3 separate regions of the Homo sapiens genome follow, and all the other regions are linked to region 3. Evidence: promoter capture Hi-C in 16 types of primary human blood cells and fetal thymus (Javierre and others, 2016). All regions are on one chromosome and are shown on one strand. The core of a region is centred on a gene start or on the middle of the fragment in contact, and the rest is flanking DNA. Distances in the headings are between cores, read along the strand shown.

What was found. Contacts are between HindIII fragments. The CHiCAGO score rates a contact against its expected background, and 5 or more counts as called.
Region 1: a fragment that was not itself captured here is called in contact with the fragment with the promoter of LINC00636 in region 3 in 1 of 17 cell types (naive B cells); the score reaches 5.1 in naive B cells.
Region 2: a fragment that was not itself captured here is called in contact with the fragment with the promoter of LINC00636 in region 3 in 1 of 17 cell types (M2 macrophages); the score reaches 5.6 in M2 macrophages.

What each region holds. Positions count from the first base shown.
Region 1 is chr3:108,353,910-108,357,147 of GRCh38, reverse strand. It overlaps HHLA2 (HHLA2 member of B7 family), which reads right to left. Exons shown (of 10, transcript NM_001282556.2): 5 at 1,767-2,033. Among named protein-coding and RNA genes, the nearest start is that of HHLA2, 59 kb to the right of the region's middle. The HindIII fragment of the contact is 6,821 bases long and covers 1-3,238 here.
Region 2 is chr3:108,321,658-108,324,844 of GRCh38, reverse strand. The region is part of intron 2 of HHLA2 (HHLA2 member of B7 family); the gene reads right to left. Among named protein-coding and RNA genes, the nearest start is that of HHLA2, 27 kb to the right of the region's middle. The HindIII fragment of the contact is 2,133 bases long and covers 547-2,679 here.
Region 3 is chr3:107,881,351-107,884,666 of GRCh38, reverse strand. It overlaps LINC00636 (long intergenic non-protein coding RNA 636), which reads right to left and starts at 1,462. Exons shown (of 3, transcript NR_015394.1): 1 at 1,361-1,462. The HindIII fragment of the contact is 1,611 bases long and covers 160-1,770 here.

The DNA.
Region 1 (3,238 bases), core at 323-2,822, 470 kb before region 3:
CCCTCCAAAAGGCAAATCCAGGGCCTCTCTGATGGTTCAAATCCCTCTTCTGATCTATCCTACCTCCAAGACTCAACAAGCTCCTTAGCAACGTGTAAAAGGTCTTTCATCTGTTTTTGGCCTCCCTCTCCAGGTTCATCTCTTGATCCATTGATTCCACAAATCCAGGCAATTTTACTTTTCTGTGCTTTTTACCTGGAATATTCTTCTTCTCCTGGAATGTCCTACTACTCTTCTAAAATTCTACCCTTATGCAACTTTCTTAAGCACATATTCTGTGACAACCCCATTCATGTCCAACCACAGAGAATAGAATTAATCACTCCCTTTGTAAGCTATGTTCCTAGTTTAATTTTTATATTTGTACTAGATGCTGTGGATCCAGAAATCAGTAGAGACCATGTTCTTAAGTTCACAGTCTGTGAGCAACAAAACTTGGCACGTAATAGCTTTTCAATGAGACCAAACAGTACTGAGCCTAAAGAACTGTTCATGCTTCAAGACACTCAATTCTAAATGAACATGAGAAATTAGGATTTTCCAAAGGCAATATTTATAATATTAACATTTGCAACCCTTTCCCATGTTTCCATTGCTGCCTGACTGATGGAGAATGAACATTGGGTACTCATGCCTTTAACACTGGACTCATGTAAATGTGGTGAATCACCCACAATTTCAGTATATTTTTGGTGAGCATTTTGAGAATATGAGATGCTAGGAAAGAGAAGACTGAAAAAAAAAGATAACCTCCATTTTCCCCCTATAAGGGAGACTGACAGAAAATTTTTGCTTTGTTACTAATAAAATGAAAAACAGGCTGGGCACGGTGGCTCACGCCTGTAATCCTAGCACTTTGGGAGGCCGATATGGGTGGATCACGAGGTCAGAAGTTCGAGACCAGCCTGACCAACATGGTGAAACCCTGTCTCTACTAAAAAAATACAAAAATTAGCCACATGTGGTGGCATGTGCCTGTAATCCCAGCTACTCAGGAGGCTGAGACAGGAGAATCACTTGAAACTGGGAGGTGGAGGTTGCATTGAGCTGAGATCATGCCACTGTACTCCAGCCTGGGCGACAGAGGGAGACTCCATCTCAAAAAAAAAAAAAAAAAAGGAAAACAAATTTTCTTGGACTTGGATATGGAGATAGCAAATTACTTTTTATTAAACAGGTTTTGGATATAGAGATTGATCAGAGTTTGGATCTGTTCAAATAAATGAGAGGAACGAGCGCTAAAAACTGACCATGTTGTGATAGAGGTGTTGGATAAAGATTGATGGGCTAATACTATGTAAAGAAACTAAAAAGAAGCAATAATACTCATTAATATTTTGTTTAATTGTAAGATTGGAAGTTGTGATCTGCTGAAAGACAAGTATTCTTTCTCCTTTGATCTTTTAAAGAGCAATGCTGGTAGAAAATCCTGTTTGAAGGATGAGCCATTGACAAATACATTAATATTCAAGAATAGATTTGCTTCTTTCCACTTCATGAATGTTTTCACTCAACTCATAAATACATAGCAAGGTAAGAATTACTTCTATTTTATCAATGAGGTACTAATGCTCAAAAGTAAGAATGATTGCTTAATGTAATACAGCCAGAAGAACCAGCCCTAGGGCTTCGGTCTTGGTCTTCTAACCGCTGCAGATGGATTTGCTTTCTTTTCTTTCATCTTCCTTTCTTTTTTTGCAAATCAGTCCCCATTACCCCCCAACTTTGAAACAGCACGTGTACACAGAAAGTCCTGTGGAGCCTACCTTTCATCGTCCAGCGCCCTGTCCATGTTTGCTTCAGCAGTGAATTTTCAATTGTACATTCATAAGATGAATTTGATCCTGTAATATTCAGTGGGCTGTTAATAGAAAAAGAATCCAAAGACCCTGTTTCTTCCATGTTGTTTTCAGAGATAGGTGTGTTGTCCATTTTCCACGTGATAATTGGACGAGGATAAACACTTAACACGCTGCATATTAAGAAGCTGTTTGTGTTCCTCTTTTCATACTTCATCACGGGTGTGAGAAAAACTACATAGGAGAAAGAAGGGCGCATGAAAAACTGCCATCATTAGCTTCTTTATAGGCCGTCTGTGCAGAATACTTTTTAATATCCATGAAATGAAAAGCTAAATTTTATGAGCAAAACTTGGCAGTTACTGAAAGGGAAAACAAACCAACAAACACACACCTCTGTAGAACCTTAAGATATAGTGTGGTTATCTAGAAGAAATAAAAAAAGAGCAGGCATGGGTATGTGGCAACTAGCAATCTCAATTTTCTAGAAACATAGCTGGAAAAGAAATCTAATGGCCTCATTGAAAAACCAAAATGAGGATGTCTAAGTCTATAAAGTAGAGTTCATGCGGCACTCTACACTCCTCAAATACTGACTCAGAGCACCTATTTGACTGTTTACACATAATTTTGTGATTTCTGAATCAAGGTCTGAAGCAGCTAAAAGGGACAGAAGAAAAAGAAACAAGTGCTGGGAAAAACAACCCATTAGAAAATACTGCATGTATGTGTGTGTGTGTATATATATCTATATGTAAGATTGTTCTATATATTATAATGCATACTAACTATATTGCATATAAATGATCAGCAGCCTGATCATTAACAGAGCACATCATCAGGAACTCTTGGTAATCCGGTAATTAGGAGCCATGAAGCTCTTTGAATTTCTTCAGTTTTAATCTAATACCTGTTTGGTTCAATGTAACTATGAGAATTAGCAACAGTTAATATATTAATACAGTTAATATATTATATAGTTATATTAACTGTATAATATAACCACCATGAAGCTCTGTCTGAGTGATATTAACTGTATATAACTGTATGTATTAACTATATTAATGGCTTATAGTTATATAGGTATAGTGTTATATATAGCTAATACAGAGAAGGAAAGCATATAATATAAAATTAACCTCATTTATAATATAGAAAAATGCAATTTAAATCAGCAATTCAATATTTTTTCAGTCATGATATTGGCAGTTATTTGGTACTGATAAGACTAAGGGGAAAGTGGATAGTCTTATGCTGCTAGTATCAGTAACCCATTTAAATCTTCTGGTACTTTGCTTTCAGATTATTTCCCAGTATTAAGTACAATTATAAGGATGTTCATCACAACCATGTAATGTAAAACACTGGAAATGCCTGAATACCCACCAACAGGGGAACAGTTGTATCATTTATAACATTAGTATACTACAAGTTGCTGT
Region 2 (3,187 bases), core at 364-2,863, 440 kb before region 3:
AATTACAAATTTGCAGCAAGGCCCAGAAAGAAGGAAAAATTTAGAGCATATAAAAGCCCTAGAATAGATGAGATGAATAGAAAGCACGGAGTAAGTCAGACACAAAATAACTCCTACTGTATGATTTGAATTACCTGACATTCTGAAAACAGGCAAAACTTAACTGTACTGTTTAAGGATGTACACCTAGGTATAACACTAAAGAAAAGCAAGGACAGGATTACCATAGAAGCTAGAAGCTAGAAAGTATTTTCCTTTGACAGAGACAGAGAAGGTAGTGACTTGGAGGGGACATGAAGGAGCCTTGTGAAAGCCTAGGAGTGCTTGATTGCCTGGCAAACCAGGTGGTTATCTTGTGGGCTTTTGTTTTGTGTTGATTCATTTAGCTATGTTTTGTGCACTTCTCTGTATTTATTCTATTTTCACAAAAATATTAAAAGTATAAGGAAGATCTAAATGTGCTGATACAGTCAAATCTTCAGAAATGTACAGTTAATAAAATAAGGCATGGAACAGCAAAAATGCTCTTGTTATATGAAAAAAGCTTACATATTCATATATATGCTTGTATTCACATAAATAATTTCTCAAAACGTATGTAATAATAAATTTAATGTAGTCCACTGCCTCTGAGAGGGGAGACTAGGACTCTGGTATTTATGAGAAGGGGCTAATTTTTATCTGTATGCTTTTACTGTGAAAATAACCTTTGAATTACATTTAATAATAAATAGATTCACCAACCTGTGAATTAACTATTAAGACAAAGTAGGGTTACCATTTGATGAAATCATTGTTTTCTAACAAAGGAGTGCATTTTGAAATCTTAAGTCTGGCATTTTTAACCAAAAATTGTAAATCACTGCTAAATTTGTTCAAAAGATGGGTTGAATTTTCACAAGCAATAAGAAAAGAAAAGTGGCTTTTATTTTAAATGGATACCCATGAAGTGATTATCTTTCAATTTCCCTTACATAAGTGGAGTGGAGATAGGTATAGATAATTCATTTTCATTTCAGTTCCCTTCTAGAACATTGTGATGTTTTCCATCTGCATTACAATAGAGCACTACTAAAAAATGGAAGCAAATTTAGGGTAAACCAAATGGCTAAATGTGAGAATCTGCCACAAATCATGAAATTGTCCTTTAGGCTTTTAGTTATATGAACAAGTAGTTTAGACCAGAATCCAATAATATGAATAATCTCAGTTGTCAAAGCAATTAGAACATAGTACGGATTTCAGGGAAATCCATTTACTAAATAAATGAGAAAAGCACCCATTGTTGACAAGGTGTGAAGAGATGAGCCCACTCAGGATTTCTGGGTAAAGACAGCAGCTTAAATACATGTTTATAATTTTGTTTCTTATCTCCTTAACTCAATAAAAATTTAGGGAAGGGATTTTTCTTTTCAAATTTTTTAAATTTTTATGGGTACACAGTAGGTATATATATTTATGGGGTACATGAGAAGTTTTGATACAGGCATGCATGTGAAATAAGCACATCATGGAGAATAGGGGTATCCATCCCCTCAAGCAATTATCCTTTGAGTTAAAAACAATCCAATTATACTCTTTCAGTTACTTAAAATTGTACAATTAAGTTATTGACTATAGCCGCCCTGTTGTGTTACCAAATAGTAGGTCTTATTCATTCTTTCTATTCCATTAACCATCCCCACCTCACTGCCCCCCAACCACAGACCCCCCCACTATGGGAAGGATTGTTTTTGTTTTTTAAGAAATGGATAAAGCAGAAAAAGAGGTGAGGTCAAAACAAACAAACAAACAAACAAAAAAGTCAGCAAAAATTTGGAAACTAGAGAAAAATGGGCAAGTAGTAACTGACTTAGTAAACCCAAGAAAATGAATCTGTAGTTAATGGGAAAATGTGAAAGTCCACCAACTTGTACCATATAGTACTCAAAAGACATAGGAACTGCTTTGGAACTGGTAATGGAAAAAAAAGAAAAAGACTAAGATAAGAAAACCTCATAGGAAAGCTATTTCTTACAGCCATCCAATGCAGGTGGGATGAACCCCTCCCAATTAATAGGTGAGACGTCCTGACTGATGACGCCATGTACACACCAAGAGGTGAGAACACATTGTATTACATCATGGAACTTTCTAAACATAGTGGGACAACACCCAGGCTAGTCTGGAATGAGCTTGAGAACGTTTCGAAAGCAAGAATGAGAATAAGTAGACTTGGTTTTTATCATAGATAGGCGGTTGGATGAGGGAAAATCCACTCCCCCACATAGGTTGAACTTTCTGCTGTGTCCAGGGGGCAGCACCAGCTTTCTTACCAACTTGCTCAAATATGAGGCAGAAGAGGAAAGAGGAGGTGGGCATGAAAGCTCTCAGCAGTCAAAGATAAAAATGGAGTCAGACTCTTAAACGATTTAAGAAGTTAAACCCCCTAGATTCTCTCCTGCACTCCACTTTACTGAACAATTGCCCCTTTCTTTGGAGAAATCCATGGAGAAACAAAGCATAATAATGTCTGAATTGATGGTCCAGGCACAGATTAGAGTTAAGGTAGAGGTTAAGACTAATTTATCAAACAGATATCTAATGCTGAACACAGAGACCCAGCCTGTATCACCCTCCAGTGACTTCCGCCTGAGAGGCATGGCCCACAGTCCGAGCTCTTAGAGCCTCCAATAAGCTTCCCTCATTCTTAATGTTAAGCAGACATTGAGGGATTACCAGATACCCTGAGGAAAGCTGTCACAGAAGACAGAAATAAATGAAACCAACCTCCCTTACAAAAAGACATCCTGGAGTAAATAAAAATATGCAAGCAAGCGAGGGTGAAAATCAACAAAAACAAATGAAATAAAACTATAACTAACATCTTCAGAGAGATAAGAAAAAGTTACATTCATAAAAAAGGAACAGAATGGCATAAGAAATTAACAGAAAAGACATCTTGGAATTGAGAACATAAGAGCAGAAGTCATTAACAGGGTTAGAAAATAAAGTAGAGACTGTCTCCTAGACAGTAAATAGACACAGAGGCAGAAAATAAGCAAAAAAGATTTTTAAAATCAGGTGACAACTCTAAAAAATCTAGAGAAAAAGAGAAAACAGGAAACAGGGTAGAAAACAAAAGTATTTAAGAAAATTTTCCAGAATAATAAATGAATTGCTATTACTGAAAAAAAGCTTACTGAAT
Region 3 (3,316 bases), core at 213-2,712:
CAGCAAAGATGTAAGTTACAATATAGCTAGAGAATTCAGATTCCATCTATGGAAATCAAATAATACAAAGTTGAAAATGTAGGTAAAGATGAAACTTGACAGACACATGATAAATTGAGTTGTGAAACTAAATTGTATCCCAGTTGAGATCTACAAGCTTGGAGTGTGCCAGGGATGAAGCAACTAAAACCAGATTATAGGAGGAGACTTGGAAGGTATTATTTGGTGGCTTAGGAAGTACCATTCTTTAAGTAACACCTAGATAGTGTCCCCAGGCCACAGTCCCTACCCCAACCTGAGTTGGTAACCTTCTGATGATCCCAAGTTTTACACAAGTAACCACAGCAGGCCCTTGATGATGGTTACTTGGGTAACCATCCTCTTAGTTGGGTAACTAAGTGTCCAACTCCAGGAAGTATAGATTTAAGTGGAATTGATTTTTGCATGTGTAAGCTATTTTATAGTCATTGTGTTGCTTCATATATGCTTTATCTGCTTTAAGATGTTTGAAATGGATAAGAGAATCTGCTTTATTAAATTTGTCTAATTTATTAAATTTATTAGATTTTCACAAAGATTGCAAATATCTTGCATGTTAGACTTGTAAGTTTGCTTAATAGGTGTTTGAATTATTTGGGAGAACTGGTTTTCAAATTGGTAATAATTGTTTGAAATGTCTAAAAATATCTAGTTAATAAAGTTTCTATATACTGTTAACATTTGAGAGATCTGATCCATAAAATTTATAAACTAATTGAGCATTAATTAAATAACAAATGAAGTTAAGTGCTTAAAATTCTTACACCATTATTAGATTTGCAAATATAGCAACAAGATTTGTGAGTTAAAAGTAAAGGCTTATAAAAACTAAGTTATAAAATTTATACCTTTTGTCAGTTCAACATTAACACAATCATAAGAAACTATCAGCATTAACTTCTGTGCAAGAAAAAAAGTCACATTTTGGGAACTAAAAACCCAATTACCATTATTAAACACTGAAGAGCAATATAACTGAAATGGAGATGAATCATCATAGCTATCATTTATTAGTTCCAACCACATAACAGTTCTGTGATAAGCTCTGCATTTGTGAGTTTGTTCATTTGTTTGTTTTTGAAGGTCAGAGATAATATAACTAAAGTATCTTGCCTCTTAAGTATATGTTAAACTGAACTGACAATCTTTTTAAATCTAAAAATATTACTTCACATACCAATCACAGTTCCTTTGCTCACAGGTAACAGAAAATCGGTCTAACTGTTTAAATCATAATAACAGCAACAACAGTAATAATATAAAGATTTTGTGGTTCAAGTAATTTAAGAAACCCAGAAATGGAAGGAGGTGTACTACTTACTTGGATCTCCCTTCAAAAAAGAACAAACTATCCACGTGTGCAGGATGCCGGTAACTGACAGCCGCCAGCCAGTGGGCATTAAGGGTCCTCTACAGTGTTGAGTTGGAACAACAGTGTTGAGCTTTCTCGACAGCCCTGGCGAATAAGTACAGTGGGAGTACTAGTGTCTGGGCATTTCCGCCCATTGTCATACTCTTCCAACAAGCAGCTTTTGCTCTAGATCTCCCTTTGGTGCTGGCAGAGACTTTATGAAATCTGCATCACAGTTTGAGGCCCTTCCTGCCCAATCCTGCGGGGTTTCCCTTTGTTTTCACAGGTGTCAGGCCTGGATCAAGGTCTGAAGGGTTTTGCTGCCCATATATTTCCTGTGCCTTGCTTTTATCTTTCACAAACATTACCTCAATAAAGCTTGGACACTGGTAATTCCATCTCCATATCTGCTTACCAGATGACCCTTCAGGTAAGCTTGCTCCAGCAGTTTAATGATGTCCCAGGACCGACTTCCTTTCTGTGTCTCAGCCTTCCCCAGTGGCAGAATAGCCCTAAAACTATTTTGATAGCTTCACCATATCAACATAGTTACCAGAACAACTGGGGTGGTTGCTTCCTGATTCACAACCAGTGGATGAAGGGAGCATCTTTTTTTAGCATCCATGAAAGACAGAATAATTTTATTCTCCAGATGCTCCCCATCAAACATCTTCTCTCTTTTTGACAAAGTTTGGATCATAATGCCATCCCAACCACTGTAACTAGGGCCCATCCCTGGAGCTGCTGTGAGATTAGTCCCAACCAATCTGCATGTCCCCATCAGAAAGGGAACAGAGAGAATGAATGCTGGGGAGGCAATCACTAAATTTCCATGACTACGAACATAAGCATCCTCAAACAATATCACACCACGGAATTAGTCTCATGAAGACACCGCTGCTACTAACAATGTGTATAGAAATTGGAGCATAAACCACTAAGAATACAGGCTGTAGAGGCCAGAAACCATTGGAACTGCACCGCTGCAGTTTCTGGAAGCTGAATGTCCTGTTGCTTCTGTTCCCGGTGTTGCCAGAGTAGACTCTGTAGAGTTCTTCCTTCTTCAAGTCACTGTATTTAATTCAAACACGAGCTGGTGCATCCTGCAGGCAGAGCCTACAGCTTGAGCCAATGTACTGGTTTCAGGAGAAGCAAGGGAGAAACTGTCTATTTCATCCCAGAGTGGGAGAATGTCACCTGTGGCATCACATGCAGAAGATTCCAGATTCTGGATTCTTTTGCGTTTGCTTTAGTTCTGCTAAAGTCTCCTGTGTATGATCCTCAGAAAGACATATGAGGGTTTTCCTCAGAACCTAAATTCTGTGAGTAAAGAATGCACTAGTGCTGAAACATTTGGGGCAAGAACAAGCATCAGTCACAACCGTCAACAATCACTCTCAGTTTTAACTTCTTTGGGGAAGCTGGTTACCGTACTTAAAACACTTGTATTCCATTTTGTTTTGTTAGTAAGACAAAAATGTATTGCCTTTATTAATACCAAACCCGTAGACTTTATACAGAATAGTTGCACTATTACCTCACTATGCCTATAAACATTCATCCTGGAAAGATTAAATTTAGACCAGCAAATGTTTATTCAGCTCATAATAAATGCAAGACCTTGTGCTAGGCGCTGGGAGATGACAAATTTGTCTTAAATTGTCACTGTGGTGACTACTTAGTCATTATTTTAATTCCTTCATCATGGAAAAATTGGGTATTAACTATTCATGATCTACTTTTATATTTCACTGTCAATTTTCCATTATTTCCAATTCTACAGAACAGCTGCATAATCTTCACAATACATTTTTAGAGGTTAATCTTACTATAATTTCTCTTTTGTTCATATCACAAATATCATTTTGGAATCCAAGGCAATAGATTATTTGAATAGAAAATGCAGCTATTAAAGATGTAAATTAT